2 separate regions of the Homo sapiens genome follow, and region 1 is linked to region 2. Evidence: promoter capture Hi-C in 16 types of primary human blood cells and fetal thymus (Javierre and others, 2016). All regions are on one chromosome and are shown on one strand. The core of a region is centred on a gene start or on the middle of the fragment in contact, and the rest is flanking DNA. Distances in the headings are between cores, read along the strand shown. Region 1 overlaps TRIM6-TRIM34 (TRIM6-TRIM34 readthrough). Region 2 holds the start of ARFIP2 (ARF interacting protein 2).

Region 1 (3,911 bases), core at 298-2,797, 860 kb before region 2:
CTTTTTACTTTTAAACTATTTGTGTCTTCGTACTCCAGCCTGGGCAACAAGAGCGAAACACTGTCTCAAAAAAAAGAAAAGTATTTAAGTGGCATGTAGTTGCTCTAGGTAAATAATATAGTTATCTTCATTTTTCCCAACAAGTTACTGCTTGAGTTGGCATTTTAACTTAGTTTTAATTAAAATTTAAATATTTTGCTACTTTATATTTTGTCAGAAATGATCTTGATTCCATGGGACTCTCAGTTTTTTAAACATTTGCTGTATAACTGCTTTGTGCATACAGTCTAGCCCTTGCCTTCACAGAGACTCAGTCAGTTAGGGGATAAAACAAAGGCATATTCTGTGCAAGGTTTATTTCAACCATCTTTTAGAAGATAAATTTGGGGTTTTAGGGTTCCAAGATTTGAAACATTACATTTGATTGGTGAAGGGCTAGTTCTCAGGTTCTCATGGGGTTGATGTTTGAGGCCGAGAATAACCTTTTTTTTTTTTTTTCCTTGAGATGGAGTCTCCCTCCTGTTGCCCATGCTGGAGTGCAGTGGCACGATCTCGGCTCACTGCAACCTCTGCCTCCTGGGTTCAAGCGATTCTCCTGCCTCAGCCTCCCAAGTACCTGGGATGAAAGGTGCCTGCCACCTTCGGCTAATTTTTGTATTTTTAGTAGAGACAGTGTTTCACCATGTTGGCCAGGCTGATCTCAAACTCTCAGCCTCAGGTGATCCACCTGCCTCGGCCTCTCAAAGTGCTGGGATTACAGGCATAAGCCACCACGCCCAGCTTTTTTTTTTTTTTTTTAAATAAATGCAAGCTTAGGTACAGGCTCTTGTCAAATAAGGAATCAACAAAGAAATAAAATATTGATTCATTTTTATCCATCTTGAAAACATACTAGTATTTGAAGGGCAAATAATTAAAATATGAAAAACAATTAGGGAAATGGAGTCTATTTTGGAATCTTTGAAAAAGCAGAGGAGAAATGTTAGGAGAGAAATCAAGATAGAACTGCAAGTTTAAGGCATTATTGCCTATCTCAGCTAAGCATTGGCCTTTATTTCAAGAGATCGAAGGAAACCCTCACATTTTTGAACTGAAAGTCAACACATACATTTGAATCACACACATTTCCACCTGACCACTGAGGGTACTTGTATGAAGACAGCAACTGAGTTTTCTATATCGCTTCCTCTGTGTCAATCACGTTTCTATACATTATATATATGGACTCAATCTTTTTTTTTTTTTTTTTTTCAGGCAGAGTTTTGCTCTTGTTGCCCAGGCTGGAGTGCAATGGCACGATCTCGGCTCACTGCAACCTTCGCCTCCCAGGTTCAAGCGATTCACCAGCCTCGGCCTCCCGAGTAGCTGGGATTACAGGCATCAACCACCACGCCTGTCTAATTTTTGTGTTTTTTAGTAGAGACGGGGTTTCGCCATGTTAGCCAGGCTGGTCTCAAACTCCTGACCTCAGGTGATCCACCTGCCTCAGCCTCCCAAAGTGCTGGAATTACAGGCTTGGGCCACCGCGCATGGCCTGGGCTCAATCTTTATAGTGGTCCTATGAAAATAGGTACTGTCATTATCCTTTTTTTAAAAAAAATGAGAAAATGGAGGTACAGTGAGATGAAAGAATTTGCTCAAAGTTGGACACATATGAAGTGGCAGAATTGACCTACAAAACAGGGCAGCAAAATTCAGAGGCAACATTTTTATTCATTTCTGTCTGTTAGAAATCTGAAAAGGTCAGTGTGTGAGTCAAATCCTACTTTGATACCTATTTTTGTAAATGTACTTTATTGGAATATCACCATGCTTATTTATGTATCATCTGTGACTGCTTTCAAGTTACAACAGCAGTGTTGACTGGTTGCAACAGAGACTGCTTGACCTGCAAATCCTAAAATATTTACTGTTTGACCAGCCTGACCAACATGGTGAAACCCCATCTCTACTAAAAATACAAAAATTAGCCGGGCATGGTGGCCCGCGCCTGTAATTCCAGCTACTTGGGAGGCTGAGGCAGGGGAATCGCTTGAACCCAGGAGGCAAAGGTTGCAGTGAGCCGAGATCACACCACTGCACTCCAGCCTGGGCAACAGAGTGAGACTCCATCTCAAAAACAAACAAACAAACAAACAAATAGTCAAAGTAATGTATAATGCTCAAAATGTAATCTTAGGCCTAATGAAGGAATAGACTCCTATATTACTCATAAATGATATAAGTAATATTAAACTTGGGGTCTAGCTTACGTGACCAAGATAATGATGAAAACTTTAAGTTGAAAGCTTATGTTGAAAAACAAAATAAAATCATTTCATATGCAAATTTTAACACCACAGTCAGGAATGTCAATGGATATACAGGGTAAAAGAAGAGAGAAAATTAACCTAGATGATAAACTGTATACATTGCATATTGATTAATCTACTATAAAACAATGGCACAAGTACATGATTGTTTTGATTCTTGAACCTTGATTGATTATAGATAGCATCAAATGTAGTATACTCTGGGGGAGAAAAGATTGGACTATGAGAGGAAATTCTATTTTAAGCTTTGTACAATTATAAGACATAAGGAGGACACAAATCTCATTAAGGGCAGATTTGGGAGAGAAACAGTGACAAAGCTAAAACCGTGACTTATTTGGGAAACATCAGTGTAGCATGATAAGGACAAGCCATTTTATATCACTCACATGAGCAGGCTTCATGTCATTGGGTAAAAATTCACAGTAATCCTGGAGAAAATGAAGAATGTGTGAATCAATGTATTGTGTGCAAACGGTGATATGAGGGTAGCCTGAGTCATATGAACTCCCTGGGAAAAACGACCAGCTTTGTGTATGTAGCAAGTGGACTTGGTACTCCTATTACCTAAAAAGAGCCTCTGCAAGTACTTATTGACAAAAGTTGACATCTACTCTGCATATGGAATAGCTGTCCCTGCCTCTCAGGCATTTTGTACCATAAAGGCCAACAGATTGCCATTATCAATATTTTGATGTCCTCAAAACAGTTTCAGTGGTAACCACATGATCGTACAAGAATACGCCTCCTTCATTCTGTTGCCAGAGAAGTACAGGAATCTTCAGTTCTTTGTCTTATTTGGAGAAAGCATTCTGCTTTCCAGTCTTTTCCAGTGGAGAGTAGGCCTTTGTTATGGGGGATGCTCTGAACATATTTCAGAATGGTTCTTTTACTCTCTCTCTGCCAGAAAAGAAAGGATCTTTTTCTTGGCTTTCCACTATGGGAACTCACTTTGGTTTTTGGAGGTAAATTCCAAGCAAGTGGGGCGGGGGCGGGGCCCTAAGTCTAGGTGCTAGGAGTTTCTCTCTCTCAAGCTAGTCCATAATCAGCCTCCGGCAATTTGTCAGAACTACTATTTAAGTGTTCCTACCAGTATATGACTCAGGCAACTCCTGTTTTAAATTTTTTTTTTTTTTTTTTTTTTTTTTTTTTTTTTGAGACTGAGCCTCACTCTGTTGCCCAGGCTAGAGTAGTGGTGTGATCTCGGCTCACTGCAACCTCTGTCTCCTGGGTTCAAGCGATCCTCCTGTCTCAGCCTCCCGAGTAACTGGGATTACAGGCGCCCACCACCATGCCCGGCTAATTTTTGTATTTTTGTAGACAGGGTTTCGACATGTTGGCCAGGCTGGTCTCAAACTCCTGACCTCAAGTGATCCACCCGCCTCAGCCTCCCAAAGTGCTGGGATTACAGGTGTGAGCCACTGCGCCCGTCCTGACTCATGCAACTTCTGCTTCAGGTAAGCAGATTTAGGCTGTTTATTCTGTGTTTACCTGTCTCTACATTTTGGGGTGGCAGTTTTTTTCCTGTGACTTTATCTGATGAGACTTAGGAAAGTCATTGATTTTTAGTTGGTTTAGCTTTTTTTTCCTTTTCTTTCT
Region 2 (3,525 bases), core at 125-2,624:
TCTGAACATTCATACCTGTGGGGATGAGTCCATCACCAGAGCCCCCATAGCCACCAGACACAATGCTGGTTTCATTGAGGTTGGGTCCTGACACCATCACCTGCTGGAGGTCCTATAGGCCAGAGAAGAGGGGTTGCTTCAGGAACATAGGGGCTGCAGAAGCATTTTGGAGGTGGGAACAAGTTTGGATTCAAGCATCATAAAGATAGTACACAAGGGAAGTCTGCACAGAATCAAAATGATACGTAAAAAGAATGAAGGGAGTCAGATAAGTCAGGGGAAGGCTACTGGAATGGAGGGTGAGAACCTAGGATTTATAAATTGGATTCCTAAATTGAAACAATTAGAAGAATCAAACAGAAGCACCTGCTCCAGCCCATCATCTTCAGGAAGCTGCCTGGCTTCGCCGTTCCCGTGGATAGGGATCTCCATTGTGGCTGCCTTCCCTAGGATCCCGTCCGTCATGGCTAGGAAAGGTATTGGAGTAAAACTCTCCACCCCAGCACCCTGCAAAGCCCAACACAGAAGTTCTGGACACTGGCCAGCACTCTAGAAGAAGGAGGCCTCCTCTGTCATTTCTTTAAAGGCTGTCCCAGGGTTTGAGTGTCCCAGCGTTTGGCCATCATTCCTTTCTTCAGATATATGTATTTCTCCCCTCCAAAACGCACATTTGAAACAGGCACACCAAAGCACGGTGTCTTCTCACAAGCCCCCAACCTCACCAGGACTCTGGTGATTATTTCTACACTCATTCAGCAGACATTTAGTGAGTGCCTACTATGTGTCAGGCACTATTTGTGACAATGAAAATACAACAGTGAAGAGGGAAAGTCTGCTCTCTTAGAACTTATCTCCATGCAGGCGTGTTTATGCTGAGGAGATGAACCCTTTCCAGGGCTCAGGTCTTCACCCCCCTATTCAGGTTTGTTCTCCATTGCTTGGCCTTTCACATTCCTTTAGCGTTTCTTCCCCCTTCCTTCAGGGGGTCTCCCCTCCTCCGTCTCATACACCTCGTCTTCCTCGGGCCCTCCCCACCAGGCCTTAGTTAGATCAGTGGGTGTATGTTCCCAGTCTCTGGTAAAAGCCTCTCTCTCCCAGGATATCGGTGACCCTTCCACAGTCAGTTATGTCTCCCAGGTGTGTGAGTCCCCGCCCCCACCCCCATACACCTGGACATCAGGTGTGTCCTCATCCTTCCCCGGGGCTCGGGGCATCTTGCCCTCTGGACAGGTTTGTGCGTTCAACTTCCCGTCGCCCAAGCATGTTCCTCTCACCTCGGGCCGGGCCGCTCTTCCCCTCAGGGCGCCAGGCCCGGGCCGCGCGGGGACCTCGGGCTCCAGTTCCCGTCGCGATCCTAGCAGCAGGTCAGGGACTCGGCGGAAATGACGTCCTCTCCGGGCAGAAGAAGCCGGCCACGTCGCAGATTATAAGGGCGGAGCTGACGTCGCAGCCAGGGCAGGGCGATACTCGAGCTAGCTCTCGAGATCAGCGAGAGGTTACTTCCGGGGCGGCACCGAGAAGCTGAAACGGAAGTGGCGTACGGCATGCGCCGGTGGCGTGATGGAGCGGCAGCAGCAGCAGCAACAGCAACTGCGAAACGTAAGTGAGAACTAAGTCGTTTCGAGGCCAGACGTTCAGCTCGCATTCCTGCACACATCGCGGGAACCCCACAGGGCCAGGGATTTGAGGGCTGGAAACTTCGGGCTATGGCGCGCGGGCCTGGGAAACTTTGGGCGGCGCGACCTTGACTAGAAGTGTGGGGCCCTTATCGCTGAGTTTGTGGTCCCCCTTTTCTCTCAGCTGCGTGACTTCCTGTTGGTCTACAATCGGATGACAGAACTCTGCTTCCAGCGCTGTGTGCCCAGCTTGCACCACCGAGCTCTGGACGCTGAGGAGGTGGGGAACTGTGTAGGGAGGTTACGCTGCAAGAAGAGTTTAGCGGTAGACTGCTTCCCTCCTCACCCCACTTCCCGTACCTCTGGCCCTGGCCTTCCCACGACCCTCACCCCTAGGCTGGGCATGGGGAAGAAAGGAGGCGGACCCGACAGGGCACCTTTATCCTCCACTTAAACCCTATCTTCCTTCTAGGAGGCCTGTCTGCACAGCTGTGCTGGGAAGCTGATCCATTCCAACCACCGCCTCATGGCCGCTTACGTGCAGCTCATGCCTGCCCTGGTACAGCGCCGCATCGCAGACTACGAGGCTGCCTCGGCTGTGCCAGGCGTTGCTGCTGAACAGCCTGGGGTCTCTCCATCAGGCAGCTAGCCATACCCAACCCCAGGAAGGAAGGCCTTGGATGGACCCTCAGATTGAAGGACCCGGTGGACCTTGGGGTTGGTGAATCCTAAACAGAGAGAATTCGAGGTTGCCTGAAAGCTGGGTGTCCTTGCTCCTTTTCCTGGAGCCAATATACCCAGTTTTTACTCAGTTTGATTTATATTCTGGGCAAGGAAGCTTTGCCTACTTTATTGGCACAATCCGTTGTTCTGTCGTTTAGTGCATATCTGCTGGCTTCAGCCCTGGCAGCTGAGAAATTGTTTTCTATATGTAGAAGGAAAACCTGAGCATTTGCAGGCATCTGGTTAAAGCAGGGTCTGTGTGTACAATTTTAAAACGGGTAATATGTCATGCTCTTAGTTCATCTTCACAACAAAACTATGAGTAAGCGGTATTAGCCTCACTTAACAGATGAGGAAGCAAGATTCCAGAAAGTACCAGAAGGTCATTTTATACAACAGGAGATTGGTTCCTGCCCAGATGACAGAAAATGGGAGCTCTGTCTAGTTGTCCTTAAGTCTGACTGACTTCAGTGGCTCATAACCGTGAGCCAAGTATTTGTTGGTTCATAACTGTTGTTTTGTGAACTATGTCTTACATGTCTAGAGTTCTGCTGGATCTAGGGAAAGGAGGAGCTATCGAAGTACAACGGATCAAAAAACCACAGGGCTTTTGGGCACTGCCTCCTTGGGAAGTTAGTGGCCACAGAAGAGAGATGAAACCTGTAAGAAGTCTGGAGTCTTTTGGAACTTCAGCCATTTCCCCAGGTTGTTACTTTCTTAGTATGTACAGTCTTCTCAGGATGAGCAGTAAAACCTTTGAACAAAGGTCTGTGTGGTTGTCTTCACGGGCAATCAGGAAGGGAGAGAGCTGGGGACCATATTCTGCAATGCAGCCAAATCCGAGGAAGAGAAACTGAAGGGAGAAGTAGATGGCAATGGTTATGATAAAAAGGGATAAAACTAAATCTTCGGGACTTCTTTAATGCTACGTTAATGTTTCACTGCTCGTCTAGAAACTCCTAAATCCAGCTTTCTATCATCTGCCCCACATTGGTCCCATTGAGTACATTCTGTGATTTCTAATTCCAGCCTCTCCATTCTTTTCTCATTATTGCCTCCCCCGCCCCCCAACTTTGTGTAATTTACTTCTGTATTCAGCAGCCTGGATAGCATATCATTCCATCACCCCATTTTCTTGCCACCATTGGCCATCTTTTTGTATCATTCCACTTATTCTGTCTTTTCC

The links. Contacts are between HindIII fragments. The CHiCAGO score rates a contact against its expected background, and 5 or more counts as called.
Region 1: a contact is called between a fragment that was not itself captured here and the fragment with the promoter of ARFIP2 in region 2, in 2 of 17 cell types (non-activated CD4 T cells and activated CD4 T cells). The highest score is 7.3, in non-activated CD4 T cells.

The regions. Positions count from the first base shown.
Region 1 is chr11:5,616,255-5,620,165 of GRCh38, forward strand. The region is part of intron 7 of TRIM6-TRIM34 (TRIM6-TRIM34 readthrough); the gene reads left to right. It also overlaps a transcript of TRIM5 not described here and a transcript of TRIM34 not described here. Among named protein-coding and RNA genes, the nearest start is that of TRIM34, 6.8 kb to the right of the region's middle. The HindIII fragment of the contact is 1,477 bases long and covers 810-2,286 here.
Region 2 is chr11:6,479,957-6,483,481 of GRCh38, forward strand. It overlaps ARFIP2 (ARF interacting protein 2), which reads right to left and starts at 1,375. Exons shown (of 8, transcript NM_001376558.2): 1 at 1,275-1,375; 2 at 367-507; 3 at 16-112. The coding sequence starts at 465. It overlaps TIMM10B (translocase of inner mitochondrial membrane 10B), which reads left to right and starts at 1,545. Exons shown (of 3, transcript NM_012192.4): 1 at 1,545-1,599; 2 at 1,801-1,896; 3 at 2,089-3,525. The coding sequence starts at 1,561. The coding sequence ends at 2,265. RefSeq lists enhancers at 968-2,167, 1,004-1,123, 1,604-1,653. The HindIII fragment of the contact is 2,521 bases long and covers 1-2,452 here.